Regions from separate parts of the Homo sapiens genome. Here region 1 is linked to region 2. Evidence: promoter capture Hi-C in human tissues and cell types (Jung and others, 2019). All regions are on one chromosome and are shown on one strand. Each heading gives the region's core, a stretch centred on a gene start or on the middle of the fragment in contact. The rest is flanking DNA. Distances are from core to core; before and after follow the strand shown.

Region 1 (5,376 bases), core at 2,843-5,342, 1.1 Mb before region 2:
CATCGACGTGGGGGGGAAAAAGAGTATGCAGTGATAGCCGCAGAGTACCGCCCTTTCCTGACACAAACTCTAACTCAATTACATTTTATTAATGCCTTCTAGTACAAGGGCACTGCAGACTAGGAAATGCCAAGTAACATGGGATAAGGTCTTCAATGTATTTCTGCAGAATTTAAAATTATTTTATTCAAAAGAAGAATTACTTATACCTAAGAGGCCAACATCACACTACTAGTAAGTTAACAGCTTGCAGAAGCTGTTTTTTTTTCCGGTAACCTAGTTTAATATGGAAAGTGAACTTAGAAGACGTAAGAACAGAAAGTGAAACTTCATGGAGGTTTCTCAAACATTTGAAGCATGATTTCAGCAGCTAACAGACTGCAGCCAATTTAAGCTTTAAAAAACTTAAGTGAGACTACCATGCAAATAAAATGTTGCATACTTCTTTTCCCACTTACCTTACTTGAAGCTCCAAATGTTGTGTACTTTAAAATAAGTACTAACAAAGGAGACAACAAAAGAAACCTTCTATTAAGAAAATTACAGAATTTGCTTTTTATTTCACTTAGAAAACTAGCCTATTTCCACAACCAAAAAAGCAAGACTAAATTTTCTCAAAATATATAGGAGTTACTACCAAAATAGGTGAGTGTCATGGCCGCTAGAAGATAACGGAGAATACTGCTGCAGAGCACACCAACAAGAGAACATGTGCTTCCATGGTTCTTCTTCAAAAGGCTGTGTGTGTGGTTTTGTCTTCAAATTTAAAATCATCACTGGCCTAATGGCTAAGCCCAGGAAACCTCAATAGGGCATATTTTGTCTTTAAGGAGAAAATTATTGCTTCTAAACTACTGTGAATCCTCTTAAGCTTTTATACAACTCAGTTCTTCTTGAGGTCTATTTTGTTAGTTTCATCAGACTGTAACGGCTTGCAATCATTAGTGAATGACAAATGGGTGTGTCCAGACAATACTCAAGTTGCAAAACCAAAATTAAAGCAACTCTCTGAGCACCCACCAAAAAGAGAGCTAATGTGTCAAAACCAAAAATATAGGATGCTTCACCATAGGTATTACTGTAATTTTCTACAGACTTATCCTTAGGCTATCCATTTCTCAACATTAACTAGCCAGAAACTTCAAATAACAATCTCTTTCTTCTACACTTCTCAGCTAAACATCTGGAAGTTTAGATTCACTACCTCCCAGCTCTTCAGCTCCTTTGCACTCTGGCTTCTACCCTTACACTCCACTGAATGTGAAGTCCCTAACAATCTTTACATTACCAATCCAATAGGTTCCTGACCTGACTCTGCTAAAGCATATGAAAATGCTGCCCATCCTTTCCTTACCTACAACACACCATTTTTTGGACACCACTTCTACCCAATCACCTTCATAATTACCCCTGCCTTTGTTACTCATATAAATGCTAAAGTTTTCGAAGGCTTGTCCTGAGAATTCTCACCTCTTCATTCAGTACTCTTTCTGGGCGGCCTACTTCAAACCACTGCTTCAACTACTGCCTAGATTGAAGCTGCCCAGACTGAGAATGTATTGTAAAACTTAATGCAGGCAGGGCGCAGTGGCTCACACCTGTAATTCCAGCACTCTGGGAGGCCGAGGCGTGAGGGATCACGAGGTCAAGAGATCAAGACCATCCTGGCCAACATGGTGAAACCCCGTATCTACTAAAAATATAAAAATTAGCTGGGCATGGTGGTATGCACCTGTAGTCGCAGCTACTGGGGAGGTTGAGTGAAATGATGCACTGTTCCACCTACTCAATAACTGACAGCCTAGCCTAGAACTCCAGATATATTCAATATCCAACTGCATACAGTGTATCTCTACTCACATATCTGACAGGCACCTCAAAGTAAACATGACCAGAACCCAACGAAGTCCTTCCCTTAAATCTGTTATTTGTTCTATATTCCCTTGTTGATGACATTACCATACATTCAATTTTCAAACCAGTAACCTAGGAATTATCCTATACGCTCCTTCTCCCTCAGCCGCAATCTCTGAGCTCCAGAGCCTACCCCTTAATTACATCTCTACTTTCTTCTCAGTGCAACCGCCACTGCCTTAGTTCAGTACATTTTCATCATTTGCCTGGATTACTGAAGAAGCCTAAATGATCTATTTCTTCTTTGATCGCCATCAATTCCTCCTCCAAAATGCTGCCAGAGGCCAAAGCCCCAAACTGGACTTCGAAAGCACAAATGACTCCTCCTCCAATGTTGGGATAAAATTCAAATTGCTGAGCTCAACACACACAAGGCCCGCGATGATCCAGCTTCCACATCATCTCTTTCCTCCACACTTACCTCCCTTGACTTGCTCTTCCTAAAACCATTCATGGTGACTGGTATTCCCTGCCTTTATGGAAGCTCTTCCACTGGCCTTGGAAACCCACCCTCCTACCTCTGCCCGGTACTTAACTGTGAATACACATCAGACTTACCTCAGGAACTTAAAAAAAAAAGTAGAAAAGATCCTATGGATAAAATTGTTTCCCTTTTAAAGAACTCCACTAAGATTCGAAGAGAAAGCTGGATTTGAGAACAACCAGTGTGCAAGCTCTTCCTGAGTGTCATCACGTCTGGGGGGGGGGCCTGTCCGACCCGTCCTCTCTTCCAGTCTATCTCTGATGACCTTCTTCTCTGTCCCTTTAGGACTCTGCACATGTTTCCATCATTGCACTTACCTTGGTGCTCTGAACTCCTGCTAAAAAAAAAAATTATTACCTGGACAAATGGCCTACAGAAAAGTGATCGTCTCAGCTGGGCTTAGTTGTGAACAAACACGGATTTGCATTCATATATGCCCAGACTCTGGCCCCAAAAGAACATTTCTGAAATTAAAAAACAAAAAACGAAATTGGTAAGTGGCATTTATACTCTATATCCCATCTGAGCCTGGTATCGATCCTATTACAGACAGATACTGCTGGCTGATGAGGAAGCCCAGATAGGTTAGACAACTTGGCTGTGGACTTCCAGGAAACAGCAGAACTGCAATTCTGACTCCCAGTTCCACAAGGGGCTGTCCCCACTCACGGGGACAGCTAGGCACCGAGCCAAAAATCCCCCAAGTTATTAGCCCGCGCAGGTAACATCAATCCTAGGATCCTCAGCTGTGTCACTTATCAAATACCACACTCGGCCTTCTCCTTGTGGAGCTCTTTTCCCTCAAGGCAGTCACCCCCGTTTCACTTGGGTCGTGCAAATTGCTGGGCACATCCTTAGATCCCCAGAAGTTGGGGAGGACGGACAAAGTCCTGTGGCCAGCAGCAAAAGCTCCAGCCCCTCCAAGTGGGAGAAACAGACTCTCCTCCAAACGAAGGGACCGGCCGGGCGCGGCGGCTCGGAGGATCCCTGGAGCAGCTGAGCTCAGCCTGGGAAACACAGCCAGGCCCTGTCTCTGCAACACATTTTGTTTTTAATTAGCCGGGCGTGGTGACGCGCGCCTATGGTCCCAGTTACTCGGGGGGATGAGGCGGAAGGATCGCTGGAGCCCAGGAAGACGAGGTTGCTGCGAGCCGTGACTGTTCCACTGCACTTCAGCCTGGGTGACAGAGCGAGACCCCGTCTCAAAAAAAAAAAAAAAAGAAAAAAGAAAAAAAAACAAAGGGAGGGACTCCAGGCGAGAGGCAGACGAGCGTGTGGAGGGAACCGACACTTTCCACCCCGAGACCTCCCGCTCAGCCCCAAGGAAACTACGCAGTATCCACACCAAAAACAGCTCACACGAGACCGCAGTGTAGACAACGGAAGGACAGGGGGTCGCAGCGGCCGGGTCCAGCGCGCAGGAAGGCAACAGGCGGCCGCCAGCCGTCGAGGGGTGCTCCCGCCCCCGCACCGAGGGAAGCGGCCGAGCCCGCGCCGACTCTTCCCCCATCCGCCCACCGGGACCTAGGCGCCGCGATGGTTCCCCGAAGCGGCCCTGCAAGCACAAGCCGCGCCTGCGCTCACGCCCGCCCGACCTACGGCCTCCAGCCCGCCGCTACCCTCACCGCTCTCTGGCTGGCGTCGGCCTCTAGCCCACCTCCATACCGGGCCCCGCTCTAGGCCACCAGCGGAAGTGCGGGCCCGCAGCCGCAGCTACCAACCAGCTGTTGCCGCGAGGTAGGCCCCGCCCCCGCGCTGAGTCGGCCGGCCGCAGGCCCCGCCCCGGCCGCTGCTTTCTGGTTTTGGTGCCCCCCAGGGGGCGGGGCATGGGAAGAGCGGCCGCGGTGCACCGCCCACGCCGGGCGCTGGCGTCACGTCCGGGCAGCTGGGGCCCGACCAATCCCGAGTCCCCGTCAGGGTGGACGGGGAGAGTTTGCCGCGGAACCTTGACCTCGGCCCCGCCCGGGGCTTCCTGCGGGTGGGGCGGCTCCGGGATGAGCTCTGCTGCGGGTGGGGTCAGCCCTTACCCGCTGGCCATTTCCGTTCCCTCTTTTTTCTTCTTTTTTCCACGCCTCAGGTGTCTCAGCGGATGTACTACGGTGACGAAGTAATTTTTCTCTTTAGATTTCCTTTAAAGACCTGAAATGTAAATTACATAAACGTGTAATTTCGGAGGAATATGTGTATATCCTTTATATTACAAGAAAGGGAGACCTTAGGTCTTGCGAACAATGCGCGCGATGCGCAACACAGCAGAGTAAATCCCTCGCTGGTGCGGTGGCTCCCGCTTCTAATCCCACCACTTTGGGAGGCCCAGGCGGGAGGCTCGCTTGAGCCCGGAGTTCAGAGACCAGCCTGTGCAACATAGCGAGACACCCGTATGTACAAAAAAAAATTAAAACTCAGCCACCGAGGCCGGGCGCGGTGGCTCACGCCTGTAATCCCAGCACTTTGGGAGGCCGAGGCGGGTGGATCACCTGAGGTCAGGAGTTCGAGACCAGCCTGACCAACATGGTGAAACTCCGTCTCTACTAAAAATAAAAAGATTACCTGGGCGTGGTGGCGGGTGCCTGTAATCCCAGCTACTCAGGAGGCTGAGGCATGAGAATGGCTTGAACCCGGGAGGCAGAGGTTGCAGTGAGCCGAGATCGCACCACTGCACTCCAGCCTGGGCAAAGGAGCGAGACTCTCTCTCCGGAAAAAAAAAAAAAAAAAAAAAAATTAGCACCTGTGGGCCCAGCTTGTTGGGAGGCTGAGGCAGGGGGTGGATATCCATTGAGACCGGGAGATCGAGACTGCAGTGAGCCGTGACTGTGCCACTACACTCCAGGCTGGGGAACAAAGCAAGACCCTGTCTCAGAAAAGTCTATAAATAAATAAAAATGAGTAAAATCCACTGGAAAGCCTATCCCCCCCCTTTTTTGTTTTTGAGATGGAGTCGCGCTCTGTCACCCAAGCTGAAGTGCAGTGGCGCAGTC
Region 2 (5,057 bases), core at 2,165-4,664:
GCCGGCTCACCTGGAGGAAGATGTGCAGGAAGCTGTTGGACATGACTTTCAGCTCCAAGACCAACACGCTGGTGGTGAGGCAGCGCTGCGGGCGGCCAGGAGGTGGGGTGCTGCTGCGGTATGGGAGCCAGCTTGCTCCTGAAACCTTCTACAGAGGTATGGCCAGGCCTTCTCCACCTCCCTTGGGTGCTCCAGTCCTGGCAGGGAGGCTGGGTGGGTGCTGCTGGGGATGGGGCCAGTCCCAGTGGGGCAGTGGGAAGATACGGAGGGAACTGACTGAGATGGAAGGAACTGGGGTTGGCCAGTGTCAGTCTGCACGTGCCAGGGAGGGGTCACAGGATGAATGCTATATCCCTCCTTTTTGGGACCGTGCAGCAAGATGGACGGATGTGGGACATGGTCCACATCCTCAGTCAGTCCCTCAGGCCTCTGCCCCACACCCACCTGCCCCGCCCCCACCCCTCCAGCCTTTCAAGGGCTTTTAGGGTTTTGTGGAAGCCACTGTCCCTCAGCCCTGTTTCAGTGCACTGGTGTAAGCAGACATGCTTGTACATGCATGTGCACCCACAAGCACACCTCAGGCAGAGGATGCCACCTCAGGGACTCCAGCCTTGCCCGTGGCCCCCTCGATATCCTCTGATAGCCCTCTCGGTTGTCCTGGGGGGCTTGCCCTCTCCCAACAGCCCGAGCTGGCCGAAGTTGGCTTCCCTAGCTGGTTCCAGAGGTTCCTCGGCTCCCCCAGGTGTCTGGGGCTTAGTGGCAACAGGGGCTTAGCCTCTGCAGAGACCTAGTGCGCCGCCTCCTTGCCCCAGACCTGCCCGGGCAGAGAGCCGTGTATGTGTCCCAGTGCACAGGCGCTGCTGGGCCCTGCCAAAAGGCCACAAGCCCACTGTCACCGTTCACATTGCTTCTCGCTTCCCGGCCCAGCCCCGCCCACACAGGCATCTGCCTTGAAAGAGGTGCAGGAGGTACAGGCAGGTGGGGGCTCCAGTGAGCTCTGAGGAACAGCAGTGGCCGCCATGGGTGGAGCCTATCTTTGTTGCCAGTTTCAGTGTTAAACACTCTTGCACGTGTGACATCATTGAGTCCTAAAGACCACTCTGCTCAGTGCATGCCATTGTTTCCTTCAGTTACAGAGGAGGGAACCAGAGCCCAGAACATTTAGCCTTTGCCTAAAGTCACTGGGCCAGGAAGTGGTAGAGGTGGGGTTCAGCAGGATTTGCCTGGGAACCCCAATATTGACCACAGTGCCATGCTGCCCTGCACGGCTCCCTGGCTGTGAGTTGTCCTGGCCTCTGGCACCACCGGTCTGTCTGGGTTCCTATGTCCCTATGTCCCACCTGCAGAATGTGACATGCAGCTCTTTGGGCCCTGGGGTGAAATCGTGAGCCCCTCGCTGAGTCCAGCCACGAGTAATGCAGGGGGCTGCCGGCTCTTCATTAATGTGGCTCCGCACGCACGGATTGCCATCCATGCCCTGGCCACCAACATGGGCGCTGGGACCGAGGGAGCCAATGCCAGCTACATCTTGGTGAGGCCCAGCATGGGGACTTGTGCTGTGATTCTGGACAGCTTTCCCTAGGGCGTGCAGGGCTAGGGGACCCCCTTCAGTTTATTTCAGACTAAAACCCTCAAAATCATTAGTGAAAGAATGGGAGAAGATAGCTTCCTCCACATATTCACCAAGAAATGTTTTTTGAGCTACCTACAAGAGTGAAATAGTGGCTCACAACTGTAATCCCAGCACTTTGGGAGGCCCAGGAGGGCAGATCACTCAAGGTCAGGAGTTCGAGACCAGCCTGGCCAACATGATGAAACCTTGTCTCTACTAAAAATAGAAAAAGTAGCCAGGCATGGTGGCGTGTGCCTGTAATCCCAGCTACTTGGGAGGCTGAGGCACAAGAATCACTTGAACCCGGGAGGTGGAGGTTGCACTAAGCCCAGATCGCACCACTGCACTCCAGCCTGGGCAACAGAGTGAGACTCTGTCTCAAAAAAAAAAAAAAAAAAAAAGCGAAATGGTAAAGAATGGTAAAGACCTTTCTGATGTAGACTGACAGCTAACCCAAGACTGAAGCATAATTTTACAGTCTGATATAACTTGGACAGAATAGCACCCTGCACCCTCCCCGAGGTTTCAAGTGTCCTGGGAGAACTGTGTTCTGCAGGGTATCAGCTTCCCCAGAGGAGGCAGCCTGGCCCCGCTCTGGCACCCTGACTGTGTGTCCTTGGGGAAGTGATGTAACGTCCCTGGACCTCGGTTTTCTGGGTAGAGTAATGGCGTATTCCTAGTAGGGCTTTGTAAGCATTAAATGTGATCCGGAATCTGTGAGCCCTTGCACACGAAGGCTTCCGTGAGTGCTAATTATTACTTGTGGCCGGTCCTTCTGGGCTGCCCCTTTTCTCTCAGATCCGGGACACCCACAGCTTGAGGACCACAGCGTTCCATGGGCAGCAGGTGCTCTACTGGGAGTCAGAGAGCAGCCAGGCTGAGATGGAGTTCAGCGAGGGCTTCCTGAAGGCTCAGGCCAGCCTGCGGGGCCAGTACTGGACCCTCCAATCATGGGTACCGGAGATGCAGGACCCTCAGTCCTGGAAGGGAAAGGAAGGAACCTGAGGGTCATTGAACATTTGTTCCGTGTCTGGCCAGCCCTGGAGGGTTGACCCCTGGTCTCAGTGCTTTCCAATTCGAACTTTTTCCAATCTTAGGTATCTACTTTAGAGTCTTCTCCAATGTCCAAAAGGCTAGGGGGTTGGAGGTGGGGACTCTGGAAAAGCAGCCCCCATTTCCTCGGGTACCAATAAATAAAACATGCAGGCTGACCGGCGTTTTTTTCTTATAAGCTGTCCAGACCTGGCTTGAAAACCCATCCCATGGCAAGGCAGGGATTCGCTGGCCGCGGTTGGCTCTATCTTGATCTGAGCAAGCCGCTGGACGTCCCTAGTTATCTTCTTCCTATCCAGGAAGAAAATCCAATCAGGATTCCACTCCGAGGATGGCGCATTAGCCAGCTCCCTGCGAAGCCCCACCCGTGTGTCCTGGTGTGAGGCTCTGACCGCTAAGGTGTCTGCGCGCCTCCAGGCCCCGCCCCCTATGCTAATAAGCGCCCGCCTCCTTTGGGAGCAAGTCGCCGCAAACTGCGAGCCCCCGCCCCCTACGCTAATGACGCCCGCCCCCCTCGGGCACACCTCTCCGATGCCTGCGAGCCCCGCCCCGTATGCTAACGAGCTCCCCACCCCCAGCTCCTCGCCGCAGCCTGCGGGTCCCGCCCCCTACAATAATGAGCACCTACCTCCCCTCAAACGCCCCTAGTCGCGGCATGAGGGTCCCGCTCACTATGTTAATGAGCACCCGCCTCCCTTCGGGCGCGCCTCGCCGCAGCCTGAAAGCCCCGCCCCCTATGCTAATATGCTCCCTCTCCCACAAGGCAGCGCGCCGGCTCGGACGCGGCCGGCTACCGAGCCCTTTGTGAGGGCTGTGAGCTGCGCCTGACGGTGGCACCATGAGCAGCTCAGGTGGGGCGCCCGGGGCGTCCGCCAGCTCTGCGCCGCCCGCGCAGGAAGAGGGCATGACGTGGTGGTACCGCTGGCTGTGTCGCCTGTCTGGGGTGCTGGGGGCAGTCTGTGAGTATCCAGTCGGGGAGAGGGGCCGGCCCCGCCGCGCATGCGCTCCTCGCCCTGCCCTGCCCCGCCCCGCCCCGGCGGCCCCAGGGGAAAGGACCCGCTGGGGGTCGGGGGTCTGCCGGGCGCCTCCCGGGGCGGAGGAATGGCGGGGCCGCCGGGAGCCGGCGTCCTGGGGTTGCCATGGTTACCCGCTCGGGCCTGGGCGCCTTGGTACCCCGGGCTGGGCTGGGCTGGCGCTTCTGGGAACATTCCCGGAGGGACCAGAAACCCCAGGGCGGGGGGGCGGCGGGGGCGGGGGTGGGGCACCGGCCTGGGGCACGTGACTGAGCCCTCCCCCCGCTCCCCAGGGGCTTTTGTGAGACTTTCTCGGTGATGCTCACGGGGCGCATGCCCACCTGGCCCGTACTAAAGCGTCAACTGTTGACTTGGGCGTAGGTGACGGCAGCCACATTGCTAACCTTTGGGCAAGGATTGTTTGTAAGGGAGGCGGGTGCACGGCTGGCTAGATTTCTGGCAGGAAGCCACTGGGCGGAAGTTTGCTGAGGGTCAGGTGGTGTCAGGGCACAGGTGGCCCCTGGGGCCGCGGGGCAGTGAGCTGAGGGCCCGGCCTCTCCCTGGGTCCTCTGTCCGCTCTCATATCTCCCCCGTTGCTGCTGCCTTAGCCGCCTGTCACCGGCCTTCCTCCCCTTCTCCGCACGCATCCCAGTCACAGACCCTGACCTTAGGCTGCCAGGGAAGCTAGGCTCTTAAGCACAGCCAGAAAAGGACAAAGAGGGAGGCAGGTCAGCTCCAGGAGTGAATGGAAGCCGTACAGCTGGCCTTCCAGGGAAAGACAAGTCTGTCTGAGTGATACCCTTTCCTTTCCTGTCTGCCCTCAATCTTGTGGATTACTGGAGTGGGCAAGGTCTTAGAGAATGTCTGTCGAGGATGTCTGCAGGTTTTAAACAGTGCCTGCCTGGCAGAGAGGGCTAGCTCTGGGCCTGGGCAGGGCAGGCCCCATCAGCAATCCTGCCAGAAGGACCACCTTTTCAGGGTCACCTTGGGTTCCACAGCCTTTCCAGGTGGGTAGAGGGTGGAGGGAGGTTGAGGCAGGAGGGTGCTGGGCTAGGAGTGTGCTGCCCTCGCTAGGCATGCCCTTATCCAGAGGCAACGGATACGGTAGGGCAGGCCCTACCCCCAAATCACAAAAAGGCCCCGAGTTTGTGTCACTGCTCTTCAGGGCAAGTACGCTTTTGACTTTGTAGGAGAGACTGGTGGGTTTGAAGTTAGGCATTGGATCCAGTCCTGTCATGTCTGGTTAGCTGTTTTCCCTGCAGATTAGGGTGGGCAGTGCAGTGGGGTGACATGGTCAGTGGTGAGAAAGGAAAGGTCCTGACTATGGCCTGTAGGCCACACCTCCTTCCTTCTTGGTCAGTGGCCCTGCCGACTCCCAG

What was found. The method cuts DNA at HindIII sites, captures the fragments that hold promoters and counts their contacts. A contact is called where the count stands out against the background at its distance.
Region 1: a contact is called between the fragment with the promoter of SETX here and the fragment with the promoter of CACFD1 in region 2, in 1 of the 25 tissues and cell types used here (small bowel).

What each region holds. Positions count from the first base shown.
Region 1 is chr9:132,350,894-132,356,269 of GRCh38, forward strand. It overlaps SETX (senataxin), which reads right to left and starts at 4,093. Exons shown (of 26, transcript NM_015046.7): 1 at 4,024-4,093; 2 at 2,756-2,862. RefSeq lists enhancers at 300-349, 3,357-3,858, 3,678-4,877, 3,859-4,358 and silencers at 3,743-3,952, 4,003-4,392. The HindIII fragment of the contact is 18,222 bases long and covers 633-5,376 here.
Region 2 is chr9:133,456,564-133,461,620 of GRCh38, forward strand. It overlaps CACFD1 (calcium channel flower domain containing 1), which reads left to right and starts at 3,415. Exons shown (of 5, transcript NM_017586.5): 1 at 3,415-3,624. The coding sequence starts at 3,504. ADAMTS13 (ADAM metallopeptidase with thrombospondin type 1 motif 13) reads left to right here. Exons shown (of 29, transcript NM_139027.6): 27 at 1-156; 28 at 1,347-1,531; 29 at 2,411-2,823. The coding sequence ends at 2,617. RefSeq lists silencers at 1-42, 3,011-3,230, 3,241-3,340, 3,631-3,930 and enhancers at 493-1,360, 884-1,178. The HindIII fragment of the contact is 20,945 bases long and covers 1-5,057 here.